Linked DNA regions of Homo sapiens: regions 2, 3, 4 and 5 are each linked to region 1. Evidence: promoter capture Hi-C in human tissues and cell types (Jung and others, 2019). All regions are on one chromosome and are shown on one strand. Each heading gives the region's core, a stretch centred on a gene start or on the middle of the fragment in contact. The rest is flanking DNA. Distances are from core to core; before and after follow the strand shown.

Region 1 (2,700 bases), core at 33-2,532:
TGTGTGATCGTGTAAAATAACGTGTGTGAGAAGCCGTGTGTGATGTGTAATAACACGTGTGTGAGAGAGAAGCTATGTGTGCAATCATGTGTAATAGCATGTGTGTGTGAGAGAAGCCATGAGTCCGATCATGTGTAATAACGAGAAAAGCCCCATGTGTGATCATGTGTAATAGTGTGTGTGAGAGAAAAGCCATGTGTGTGGTCATGTGTAATAATGTGTATGAGAGAGAAGCCGTGTGTGATCGTTGTGTAATAACGTGTGTGAGAGAGAAACCATGTGTGATCATGTGCAATAGCATGTGTGTGTGAGAGAAGCCATGTGTGATCATGTGCAATAGTGTGTGAGAGAGAAGCTGTCATGTGTAATAATGTGTGAGAGAAGCCATGTATGATCATGTGTAATAACGTGAGAGAAGCCATGTGTGACCATGTGTAATAACGTGTGTGAGAGAAGCCATGTGTGTGGTCATGTGTAATAAAATGCATGAGAAGCCATGTGTGATCATGTGTAATAGCATGTGAGAGAGAAGCCATGTATGATCATGTGTAATAACGCATGTGAGAGAAGCCATGTGTGACCATGTGTAATGTGTGTGAGAGAAGCCATGTGTGATCATGTGTAATAGCATGTGTGTGAGAAGCCATGTGTATGATCATGTGTAATAACATGCATGAGAGAAGCCGTGTGTGATCATGTGTAATAGCATGTATGTGAGAAACCATGTGTGATCATGTGTAATGTGTGTGAGAGAAGCCATGTGTGTGATCATGTGTAATAGCATGTGTGTGAGAAGCCGTGTGTGATCATGTGTAATAGCATGTGTGTGTGAGAAGCCAGGTGTGATCACGTTTAATAGCGTGTGTGTGAGAGAAGCCATGTGTGTGATCATGTGTAATAATGTGTGTGTGAGAGAAGCCACGTGTGTGATCATGTGTAATAGCATGTGTGTGTGAGAGAGAAACCATGTGTGTGATCATGTGTAATACTGTCTGAGAGAGCCCATGTGTGTGATCACGTGTAATAACGTGTGTGTGAGAGGGAGAGAAGCCATGTGTGTGATCACGTGTAATTGTGTGTGTGTGTGAGAGAGAGAGAAAGAGAGAGGGAACAGTACAAAGGAGGATCCCTTTAGAAAAGTATTCCAACGTCTTATGGAGCCAGAGGGCTGATTCACAGCTGCTAATCTCTGTCATGCTTTCCAGCACCACCCCCTCCCTCTCATCATAACTTGTGATCTTAGAGGCAGGAAAGAATTTGAGCCCCTCCCCCAGCCTGACCATCTCTGTTGGTTGCTCGGCCAGGCTCCACGTCAAATCCAGTTTGAAACACAGACCCTAGGACCACGCAGGAGGTGGTGGGCTCGCAGGAAGGTTCCTCTCCCAGTGGCCATGGGTAGCAACAGTGGGCAGGCTGGCCGCCACATCTATAAATCCCTAGCTGATGATGGCCCCTTTGACTCTGTGGAGCCGCCTAAAAGACCCACCAGCAGACTCATCATGCACAGCATGGCCATGTTCGGAAGAGAGTTCTGCTACGCGGTGGAGGCAGCGTATGTGACCCCAGTCCTGCTCAGCGTAGGTCTGCCCAGCAGCCTGTACAGCATTGTGTGGTTCCTCAGCCCCATCCTGGGATTCCTGCTGCAGCCCGTGGTCGGATCGGCCAGCGACCACTGCCGGTCCAGGTGGGGCCGCCGGAGACCCTACATCCTCACCCTGGGAGTCATGATGCTCGTGGGCATGGCTCTGTACCTCAATGGGGCTACTGTTGTAGCAGGTAAGTGGGCTGCACAAGGTGGGCAGACAGGGATATGTGTCTTAGTGTGTACCTCTGCAGGAGGAGGATGTTCATGTGTTTGACCTTTCCTAGAAATTTGTTAGAATTGATCTCTCCTAGGTTACAATGAACTTCCCCTTTGACAAATTTGGCCCAGATTCTGTGGTTGGGGAGCCTCTACTTCTAGAAATATCAAAATAAATATGTTTCATTGTTGTGAAGATTTAAAAATAGGATTAAATTTGTATCTATTTTATTAAATTTGTATCTATTTTATCGAATTGAATATTTTTACATATTTATCAATTGAGTTACTTTTTGAGCCCATTATGCTCTATTTAATACTCTTATCAAATTGACTGGCTGCCAAATAGCTCCATAAATATTTACAATAAGTCACCTGTGTATCCAAATAAGTTAATTCTGTTCATAGTTTTATGTAGAGCGTTTTAATAGGCGTAGGGCATAAGCCCATCAGCTCAAGAGGACCTTTCTGGCATTGCAAATTCTGGACAAAAGCAAACCTGAGGGTAGGCATTTTTTCTAGCCATTAATCAGCTACCAATTAATCAGTAATTGATGGTAGTACAATAAAGTTGCATTGCAAAAAGGATCGCTAAAAATAGCACACATTTGTAGATCATTAACTCTCAAGCTAGCAGAATCGGTGATTATGAGGCAGGATAATCAATTATCATTTGTACATATTTGAAAGAAAGCGTAAATGTACAAATGTAGGATATTTCCAGGAGAATGAACAAAAAGCTGATAAGCATTGTTGACTCTAAGGAGGATTACTGAAGGACAGGAGGTGAGAAGTGGCGGGTAGACTTATTGTTCATTTAATTTTATACTGCAATTTTTAAAACGTGTATATAATCTATGCTATTCTTAAGTTTAAAAAGCAAATGGAAACAAGAGAAA
Region 2 (2,700 bases), core at 74-2,573, 500 kb after region 1:
GTTCAAACAATTCTCATGTCTCAGCCACCTGAGTAGCTGGGATTACAGGCACGCGCCACCACGCCCAGCTAATTTTTTTTTTGCATTTTTAGTAGAGACAGAGTTTTGCCATGTTGGCCAGGCTGGTCTCGAACTCCTGGCCTCAAGTGATCCACCCACCTTGGCCTCCCAAAGTGCTGGCAATTACAGGAGTGAGCCACTGGGCCCAGCCACACCTCCTGTTTTTAACCCACACTGCTTTTGATGAGACAATTCAGGAAATCCATACATTTACCTCTTTGTCTGCTTTATCATAAGGGGGATATTTCCCAAGTCCTGAAGTTTTTATTTAAGTCATGAGAATAAAATAGCATTGAAAATATTTTATTATCTTCCCATTAAACATGTTACTTAAAAGAAAAAACTTTCTAGAAATAAAGACTTATTAAGAGTCAAGTCGCCCTTCTAAATGACATATGCAGGAGGCTGGAGAGCTAGGTCAAGGATCTCTTTCAATTGCATTTGATCAATTACTTTCTTTGTTCTGCTAGCTGCAAGTAATTGTCCATACTAGCCATTTGGTTAGAATGTCTTTACAGAACAAATGGCACTCTTTCATATATTCTTTTCCTTATGTTCTATTTGAAGACTATAATCAATTCTAAGCAACAACGACCTTTGTAAATTCAGGCCTCCTCTCAACCCCTGAGCTAGGCCTGGGACCCCACTTCTGATTCTTTGAATTTGCTGGTAACTTCCATTAGTCCTGAATGACATAAACCACTACAGCCCACCTCAATTCTATCCCATGCCCTAATCTACTTCATCTCTTTTGCCCCAGACTAGTTTTCACAGCTTCCTGTTCATTTGTTCATTCCACCCTGGGTCTCTAGGAGACGAAAGAAATCTACCTGATCTTACCTCTTTCCCTCTTTCCCTCTACAACATGCTATGAACAGGGGCCTTGGAGTCCCAAAACCTGAGTGCAAAATTTTAACACTTATTAGTTACTTCACTAGTATAATAATAATACTGTCCTTGTAGAGTTATTGTGAGGGTTAAATTAGTTAATACATCTAAAGCATGTAAAATAGTGCTATTCAAAGGATATTCTTTGAACCTACACAGTCCAAAAATTGCTTGCTACTAGCCTGCAACTAGATAGGTATAAAAGTACAGAACATTTACAAATGAACTAATCCAATCTTCACTGGATCGATAAATTTATAAATCAAGAAAAAAGTTCATTGGGTGTATTAAAATCTTTAAATGTTGATATATACAGCATTTATTCAAAGTGTACATAAAGGGCTAGGCATCGTGGCTCACACCTGTAATTCCAGCATTTTGAGAAGCCGAGGTGGGAGGATTACTTGAGGTCAGGAGTTCGAGACCAGGCTGGCCAACATGGTGAAACCCTGTCTCTACTAAAAATACAAAAAATTAGCTGGACATGCTGGCACATGCCTGTAGTCCCAGCTACTCAGGAGGCTGAGGCAGGAGAATTGCTTGAACCTAGGAGGCGGAGGTTGCAGTGAGCTGAGATTGTGCCACTGTACTCCAGCCTGGGCGACAGAGTGAGACTCTGTCTCAAAACAAAAAAACAAAAACAAAAAAACAAAATATACATAAAGGCCCTTAAAGCGGGGAATCATTATTTCACTCACAACTTTTTGAGAAGTTATGATTGTTAAATAATATGTAGAAGTTATTAGTATAATTTTCTATGTTAAACACTTTATATCCACATCCACTTTCAATGGACAACAAATACAAGTTTTGTAGTTGTTTTTCTTTTTTTTATGTCATTTTCTAGGAATTAAGTTTTTTATTTTTTTATTTGTTAAATATTTATTGAAGTGTTTGTAGTAATTTATAACCAATAACTAATTTGTACAGTGATTTCAATTTTAAGGTTTTTTTTAAAATTTTCATTTGTCACTGTAAAAGCTCATAGGAAGTAACTTTTAAAGTACTTTGCAGAAATATTGATCTGTGGCAAATTGGAAATTCAAGAAAAAAGGTAATCATTTACCACAGAGAGTTTGAGAAGCACTGACTTATTACAGAGCTCTGCCTGGCACATCATAATATGAAACACATTAAAAAGTGCAGCCAAATAGGAAGTGTTCAGTGAATACTCACTATTACTACTTTCATTTGATAGATGAAGAACCTTAGGCAGAGAGGAGTTCAGGAACTTACCCATGTCCTGTGTCCATGATCCTGGTCCACTGAGGCACACTGCGTCGGACCTAGAAGTACCTGCCTGCCTACCCTGGATAAACTGATAGAAGGAGTTTTCCTTATTGAGACAGGGGACCCTGCAGAAAATCCGGGACAAAAAACAGAAGCAAAACACATATCGCAGAGTGTCCCCAAGGTGCTGATGTTGCCATCAAGAGCCGGATGAAATGGAATTGCCCAGAAAGCACCTGCAGGTGCATTGCCCAAGCAATAGTCACAACCCTAAGTAATAACCACCCAGAAGTTGGCAGTGGAGGCCAATGAGGCACCTAGCAACCCAGCAGCAAAGAAACATTATCCAGAAGCCAGGAGATCTACTGGGGACCCCGGCTTCCGCACAAAGCCATAAGGTCAAATAAGCTATACCCTTTCCAAATTCTACACAATCTTAGAGAAACAACAAAAGATAAGCTGTTTGAGGGACTGAGCACTTTTGGCTAACAGAAATTGAACCCCACTAAAAGGGAATAAACT
Region 3 (2,700 bases), core at 13-2,512, 340 kb after region 1:
AAGGATCATGCACCAGAAAGCAAATCAACTATGTTACTAAGCAACTATGTTGCTAAGCATACTAAGCTGACATGCTTTTCCTAACAAGACTTTCTCAATGAAAAAAGTAGTATGTTGATTTACATTCTCGTGCTCGATCTGCCAACCACACTGTGTAGCACCTGTGTGATTAGGCAACGTAAAGTTTCCTTCCATTCTTGAAACTCTCTGATTCTAAAACCCACGACTCTTGGCAGAAACTTATATGAGCCCCTGTTTGTTTTACATCTGATATGTGACTGTAGAAAGCCGGCTTGCTTGCAGAGAATTGGGTTTAGACTTTTAGGGCTCTTGGCTCAGCTTGCTCTGGTAACCTTCCTGATACGGCCATCTCCTGCCTCTTCCCTTTCCAGTGGTGTATGGCAGGCAAGTGCATCACAGTGGGGAAGAAACCAGAGAGCATTCCTGGAGGCTGGGGCCGCTGGTCACCCTGGTCCCACTGTTCCAGGACCTGTGGGGCTGGAGTCCAGAGCGCAGAGAGGCTCTGCAACAACCCCGAGTGAGTCCAGATAAATATATTTCCCTTCTCTCCACATGTGCTGGGGGCGGGATGGGGGGCAGTCTTGAATGGCATGACCTCAGTGACCCCAAGCCTCCTCCAGGTAAATTAAATGGGTTCCCAGGACAAAACAGAACAAGAAGATTCACAGAGAGTGGGGAAAAAAAGTGGTTCTGTTTTGTGTTGTTTCATTTCGGCTTGGCACTGGATTCTCACTAAAACTTGGATAAGTAAGCTGATTTTATCATTTGGGGAAATAAAGCAAATTTCTTTTAAATGTGCAATCTATGTGAAAGCCTCTAGGAGATTATACAATTAAATCTTTTTAAATAACTCAATTTTATCAGTAGAGATTAGTGAAACGCAATTTTGCTGATAAGATTGTAGCTTGCTTTCAATGATAATGAATACACAATTTTATGAGAATAATTCTTTCCTTAAGCAACTAGTAAAACAGGTACATTTTTGAGGACAATTATTTTTAATATTTTTCGATAAGGATTTTTATAAACCCTAAAGTTCCGCAGTGGCCTGTTAAGGATTCTGCAAATGTTATTTTACAAGTGACTTTCAATTGTTTAAGCAAATTGCTTAATTTTTCATATATTCTATTTGTATGATAATATTATATATGAGGTAAATTTAAACTTGCTTGTTTTCCAAATACACATTACATTCTTAATTTCATTATTTTCTGATATACTGTCTCCCAAGTAATTTCTTAAAAGTGTATATGTGATATCTCCTTTAAGTGGAAATTATATTGTTTCTTTTATCTAAATTTACATTCATCTACTTTGAAAAGTAGGAGTCACATTTTTTAAAAGGCGAGCAATAAAAGTGATTTTATCTCTCAATATCTCAATTCCAAAGGTTATTTATCCTTTTTGTTAATAACTGTATTACCTAGATGTATAGTATTTAAATATAAGTATATGTATATATGAATATATATGCATGTATACATTACATATATACATATATACACTATATATATTATATATTTTTTCTAAGGGTTAATAAGTTAGTATGTGTAAGGAATTTAACACAGTATCTACTACATAATAAAGTGTTAATAAATAGTAGTTATTATGAATCTTTATCATTTACCACATTTATAAGCATGCATTTGGAAATTCTTCACAAAATTATTTTAAAATTTCACCCTTTGATGAAAGTTGTTTTATTTAAGTACTGGGTTTCTGTGACTTTCAAAATTCAAAACCAAGAGTTTCTCATAGAGTATTTTGTTTTTAGAGAAAATTGTCATTTAATCGTTTGTTTCCATTTGATCCAGAAATGTGATTTCCATTTTCATTTGAGAGATCAGAAAAGAAAGGCAATTTGCTCTGGGACTTATTGTCAATGCTGTATATTCAGACACCACCAGTGTGAAAGTTCTTGGCAGGTTGGTCAGTGACTTGTGGCTATCAGAGAAGGGAACTCCTAGTTGAGGAGGTGAAGGATGAATCTCTAACCTGGCTTCAGGAGAAAGGTAGTTCTAATTCTCATCTCCAAGGCCACAGTTTGTCATAGAGTCTCTTTGGGTGAGTGGACATGCCTGTTCTTCATTGCCGGTTTGCTTAAATTCATTGCTAACACTGCCAATGGCACCGCATCATAGATTTGGATCTGTGGTTCAAGTCACAGATTCAGGCCAGTGCATGAGCCAGCTGATCTTGGGACTGCATCCTTGCTGTAGGTCAACTGTCTAGTGAGAACCCAGCAGAGCTCGGCTCATAAGAGGCTGTCAGTGATATTGATTGGATGGAAATGAATTGGAGACATACCAGGTCATAGAGTGTCCCTGCATCAGCACAAATAGAAAACCAGCCTCACCTTAAATAACAAGGACAATTCTTGGTACCTCCTAAAGGGAATCAACAAATTAAGAGCCTACTATGTGAACTGCCTTGGTCAAAACTCTTTCATGAGTGAGGAACAGAAGCTTACTCAGGCCACATTGAGGGAGGGGAGGTATAGAAAATCTCATGGGCATTCAAGGAGAACAAAGTACAGCAGAATCAACAAGAATTACAGCTGCAACCAGTACTTGACTAGACTGCCAGGATTTGAGTTCTCTGTCTCTCAGGATTTTGTGGTCAGGCAGTGTAACATAGTGGATAAGAGCTCAGGCTTTGGATCAAGGAAGACGACGATTC
Region 4 (2,700 bases), core at 85-2,584, 470 kb before region 1:
TGGTGGCATGATCTTGGCTCACTGCAACCTCCACCTCCTGGGTTCAAGCAATTCTCCTGCCTCAGCCTCCCAAGTAGCTGGGATTACAGATGCCATGCACTGCTCCTGGCTAATTTTTGTATTTCTAGTAGAGACGAGGTTTCACCATATTGGCCAGGCTGGTCTTGAACTCCTGACCTCAGGTGATCCACGTACCTCAGCCTCCCAAAGTGCTGGGCTTACAGGTGTAAGCCACTGCAGCCAGCCATCTAGCCTCCCCCTATTTTTTCTTCACAGAACATGAAACTTCTCAACCTACTAAAAATGAGCTTTCCTAATAACTCATGACCTACCAGTCTAGGAAGAAACCATCCTAGCTGTGAGAGATCAGATGAAACCTCAGACCAGAGACTCATTTTCTTCTAAAATGCTTTCTCCAAAAGAGTATATTTATTTATTTATTTTTAATTGTATTTTTTTATGTTCCAGGGTACACGTGCAAGATGTGCAGGTTTGACACATAGGTAAACATGTGCCATGGTGGTTTGCTGCACCTATCAATCCATCACCTAGGTATTAAGCCCAGTATGAATTAGCTATTTTCTCTAATACTGTCCCCACCACCACTCTCCCCCGACAGGCCCCAGTGTGTGTTGTTCCCCTCCCTGTGCGCATGTGTTCTCATTGTTCAGCTCCCACTAATAAGTGAAAGCATATATTGTCCAAAAGATTTTAAAAAAGAAAAGGGGGGAAATGCAAAAGGAAGATAAATTTTGGGGCCCTCAAATACCTAAGCTAAAGGGAAAAATCAAGCTGGGAACTGTTCAGGGCAAACCTGCCTCCCATTCTATTCAAAGTTGTCCCTCTGCTCACTGAGATAAGGTCATATCTGATTGCCTCGTTTGGAAAGGCTAATCAGAAACTCAAAAGAATGCAACCATTTGTCTCTCCCCTACCTGTAACCTGGAAGCCCCCTTCCTACTCGAGTTGTCCTACCTTTCTGGGTGGAACCAATGTATATCTTACATACATGGATTGATGTCTCATGACTCCCTAAGATGTATAAAACCAAGCTGTGCTCCAACCACCTTGGGCACATATCATCAGGACTTCCTGAGACTGTGTCACAGACGTGCATCCTCAAACTAGGCAAAATAAACTTTCTAAATTAACTGAGACATGTCTCAAATATTCAGGGTTCTCACAATTCTCTATAAATAAAATTATGAAGTTATCTCAATCCCAATAAAAATACAGAAGGTTTTTCTTTGTTTGTTTGTTTTTGAGATGGAGTTTCACTCTTGTTGCCCAGGCTGGAGTGCAATGGCACGATCTCAGCTCACTGCAACCTCCACCTCCCAGCTTCAAGTGATTCTCCTGCCTCAGCCTCCCAAGTAGCCGGGATTACAGGCATGCGCCACTGTGCCTGGCTAATTTTGTATTTTTAGTAGAGACAGGGTTTCTCCATGTCAGGCTGGTCTCGAACTCCTGACCTCAAGTGATTCGCCCGCCTTGGCCTCCCAAAGTGCTGGGATTACAGGCGTGAGCCACTGTTCCTGGCCAGATTTTTGTTTTAGAGCTTGGCAAGTTAATACTGAAGTTTATGTGGAAAAATAAATGTGCAAGAATAGCCAGAGAATACTAAAAGAAAAAATAATAACGATAGTGGTGGTAGAGGGTTCTACCAGACATTAAGACATCTAATCGAGCTTCTATAATAAAAACAATGAGGTATAGTGCATAGACAGACCAATAAAATAGAATAGAAAGTCCAGAAATAGAATCAAATGCATATGAAAATGTAGTGAATAATAGAGGTGGCATCTTAAATCACTGGAGCAAAGACGGAACTCTGACTCAGTACTCTCGAACAAATTGCTTTGCCCTGATTTGCCTTAATCTGTAAACTGAGAATGACAGCACTGTTTAATGGGAAGAGAAAAATGCCTCTATTATCACATCAGTCTACCAAGTTTGACTAGAGCCTTTAATCTCTCTGAACCTCCCTCCCATCAACTGTGAATGGGGAATAATAATATTAAATCCAATTCCTGTCTGGGGAACTTGCTAATATTCAATGAGCAAACATTGCTGAGAGCCATTTGGGGAATGAGAAAAGCTGTAGAAAAATGGGATATTATTAAGCAGGCTCAACACTCACCACAAATCAGAATGGAGCTTGATATAGTTCGACAGTGTCCCCACCCAAATCTCATCTTGAATTGTAGTTTCCATAATCCCCATGTGTCATGGGAAAGACCCGGTGGGAGGTAATTGAATCATGGAGGTGGCTATCTCCATGCTGTCGTCATGATAGTGAGTGAGTTCTCATGAGATCTAATGGTTTTATAAGGTGCTTTTCCCCCTTTGCTCAGCACTTCTTCCTGCCGCCCTGTGAAGTTGCCTTGCTTCCCCTTCCCCTTCCACCATGATTGTAAGTTTCCTGAGGCCTCCCCAGCCATGCTGAACTGTGAGTCAATTAAACTTCTTTCCTTTATAAATTAGCCAGCCTCAGGTGTATCTTTATTAGCAGTGAGAGAACGGACTAATACAGAGCTTAAGGGCACTTTTTCTATTATAGGGCTTAGTGCCATCACCCATGCTATTCAGGTTGGAGTTTGCTAGGGTAGTAGGAAATAGTGGAGACAAATTTCAAGTGAATGTTAATGATTCAAAAAGGAGATTTTTAGCATTTTCTTACCCATCCCTCCTTTTATTTAT
Region 5 (2,700 bases), core at 43-2,542, 400 kb after region 1:
GGGTGGCTGAGGCAGGAGGATCGCTTGAGACTGGGAGATCGAGGCTGTAGTGAGCTGATATCATGCCACTGTACTCCAGCCTAGGTGAGAAAGTGAGACCCTGTCTCAAAATAATAATAATAACAATAATGCCACCATTGCTCAGGATATTTTAGGAACTCCTGTGAGGACTCAGGAGAAAATGGAGAATATCTGATTCAGGAGAATGCCACAGAAAGTCAATTAGAATGGGGCCTGATGGATAAATGAATAATGTGATCAAAATCTTTGTGTTTAAAAAATATTTGATGATAAATATGTGACAGATTGCTTTTCACCTGCTCTGAAAGAAAAATTCTAAAATTTGTGTAAGCAAAGATACCATCTCTGAAGATACCTATTTGAAAGCAAAACACTCATTTAAATACAGCAGCTTTGATGAAACCTTATTTCCAAGACTCCCTTTTATTAGCTTATGTCACAGTTTAGGTTTATTTACCTTCTGAATCTGTACAGGATGTTCTCTTGGGCATCTAGGTGAAATTAAAAAAAAAAAAAGAAACAGAAAATATGGTCCCTAGATGGTAAGAACTTCCATCCAGTGGGAGAGATGGGATCCAGAAAAGAAAAAGAAAAAAGGAAAGGAAGGATAAAGATATGCATGCAAAGAAATATACCTACATACAAATATGGGTGTATTACTGATTCATGCACAGATGTATGTACACACATCAGTGATAAGCCATACATTCTTTTTGCTATTCCTGGGAGAGTATAATCACGGCATTTGGTTGGCCTGCCTTATTAGTCCACTGCAACCTAGGTTTCTGTGAATTACAGTGTTGTCAAAATAAGGCTGAATGGAGTATTGTGACTGGCCTATTAAATCTGTTTACCAAAAATGTGTTGGCCGCATCCAAAACTGTTAATAATTCTTGTCATGTAGAATTTACTAATTGCCAACATCTTAATGCTTTTTCAGAGGACTGCAATTACAGATTTGGCTGAGGAGTTCTTCTTAATGTGTTCACGTTTATGGGAAGCGTAGTAACCTGTCTTAACTGGAGAACAAGAGACCAAAAAGTTGGCATGATGTAAGAAGCACTTGGGTCTGTGATTCCATATGTAGGCCATTGCATAGTCAATGGACCACACATGGACAGTTTCTAGCTTCCACTTGACAGAGCTGAGCAGAAAGGCTGGGCCAATGCCCTCATTCAGAAGATGTCATTGGAAGTGCTTTTAGTTAAATCAGTATCAAAATATTCATCAAATGGGTCTTCCTTTCTTCTATCTGCTCTCTTACTAATAACCTCCTAATGAACTTTGCTGGAGTATGATGAAATGTCTTTGACATTCTAACTATGCCCAGATACTTTTTTTAAAGAGAGGTGACATAGTGATTCTTGGCAGGCAGTATTTATTATCTAGATTTTGTCTGGAGACCAACATCATTTGAAGCAGGATAGTGCTCCAGCCATCATTTGGTCTGCACTGTGTCATTTTCATCTGCATTTGTCATTTTCATCACCCTGGATGGTCTAAAACTGTAAAGTTACTTATCCAAAAGGCCCAAGAACTGACAGCCTTCTAGACTCCTGTAAAATGGCCTTCTCTGGGCTGAACTAAGTGAGAAGAAAGAGGAAGTACATTCATGAGCTCCTTTCCTTATCAAAGCACTCCACCAACTCAAGCAGTGAGGAGAGAGTGGGCTCAGCCGTGCCAGGTTGGTACACTCATCCCTGTCCCAGCAGGGATCAGAAAGGGGAGCTCTCTCCCCTGCTGCCCCAGACAGGCTTTCCTGCCCCCTGTGACCAGCCCCTTTTCTCTAAGCTTATGTTCTAGATACCTGACTCTCACCTCCAATCTCAGGTTTTACCAAGAATCTTATCCTGGTTTTGCCCATCCTACTTTGTGGACTTAAAGGGTAAAGAAGGGAACTCTATTGTAAACAGAGACCAGGTATCAAAGTTACTGTGACTCCCTTACTTCCCAGATACACCATTTCAGGGACATGCCTTGTGAGAGGCAGCCAGTCTAGTAGTGAAGGGCACAGCCCCTAGAGCATGGCTTCCTGGGTTCAAATGTGTATGTGTGGCAAACAGGACACTCCAGAAGCCAGGATGTGTGTGTTTGTTTATACAGTTTTCCTTTCCAAAGGCATTTCAGGCAGTTTACAATAAAAGGGCTCTAGACATTGAAGTGGTGAACTAGAAGTTGTAGCCACACGTGGGAGCAGAGAGCAACATGATAAACATGAGAATAATAGGGTTATTTTGATGAAGCTTTCAGTTTAACCCAGTGCATCCAGACAACCAGGGCAATAAGGGCAGCCCAGTGGGTTCCATAATTCTTTCTTTTTGATAGATGGAAGGGTACCTCTTCTTCAAGAGACACCCCTGGTACCCCCAATGAGAGCTTTAAAATAAATTGCCAAAATTATATGAGATTTTTAATCATGGCTCCAATGGTTTAGTCAGATACTTTGTAAAAACCTATGCCATCTTTTTCCTTGGAGGGATGGATGGATGGATGGATGGATGGATGGATGGATGGATGGATACATGGATAACCACCATGTACTTAATAAATGTTTGACTAGTGCATCCTTGGCAGAAAGGGAAGTGGGAAGAGTCCTGGCTGAGATCATGGAGAAACCATCTTAGTTCTGGCCTTGTATTGCATAAACTTGTATTGCATAAACTTGTATTGCATATTGAA

Evidence for each region. Contacts are between HindIII fragments. The study calls those that stand out against the background at their distance.
Region 2: a contact is called between a fragment that was not itself captured here and the fragment with the promoter of SLC45A2 in region 1, in 1 of the 25 tissues and cell types used here (aorta).
Region 3: a contact is called between a fragment that was not itself captured here and the fragment with the promoter of SLC45A2 in region 1, in 2 of the 25 tissues and cell types used here (IMR-90 fibroblasts and lymphoblastoid cells).
Region 4: a contact is called between a fragment that was not itself captured here and the fragment with the promoter of SLC45A2 in region 1, in 1 of the 25 tissues and cell types used here (IMR-90 fibroblasts).
Region 5: a fragment that was not itself captured here is called in contact with the fragment with the promoter of SLC45A2 in region 1 in 1 of the 25 tissues and cell types used here (lymphoblastoid cells).

Annotation. Positions count from the first base shown.
Region 1 is chr5:33,983,275-33,985,974 of GRCh38, reverse strand. SLC45A2 (solute carrier family 45 member 2) reads left to right here and starts at 1,282. Exons shown (of 7, transcript NM_016180.5): 1 at 1,282-1,776. The coding sequence starts at 1,392. The HindIII fragment of the contact is 13,392 bases long and covers 1-2,700 here.
Region 2 is chr5:33,482,903-33,485,602 of GRCh38, reverse strand. No RefSeq gene overlaps it. Among named protein-coding and RNA genes, the nearest start is that of TARS1, 43 kb to the right of the region's middle. RefSeq lists an enhancer at 2,684-2,700. The HindIII fragment of the contact is 4,033 bases long and covers 1-2,700 here.
Region 3 is chr5:33,639,648-33,642,347 of GRCh38, reverse strand. ADAMTS12 (ADAM metallopeptidase with thrombospondin type 1 motif 12) reads left to right here. Exons shown (of 24, transcript NM_030955.4): 11 at 393-538. Among named protein-coding and RNA genes, the nearest start is that of TARS1, 200 kb to the right of the region's middle. The HindIII fragment of the contact is 4,544 bases long and covers 1-2,700 here.
Region 4 is chr5:34,454,442-34,457,141 of GRCh38, reverse strand. No RefSeq gene overlaps it. Among named protein-coding and RNA genes, the nearest start is that of RAI14-DT, 200 kb to the left of the region's middle. The HindIII fragment of the contact is 4,681 bases long and covers 1-2,700 here.
Region 5 is chr5:33,584,880-33,587,579 of GRCh38, reverse strand. The region is part of intron 18 of ADAMTS12 (ADAM metallopeptidase with thrombospondin type 1 motif 12); the gene reads left to right. Among named protein-coding and RNA genes, the nearest start is that of TARS1, 150 kb to the right of the region's middle. The HindIII fragment of the contact is 4,295 bases long and covers 1-2,700 here.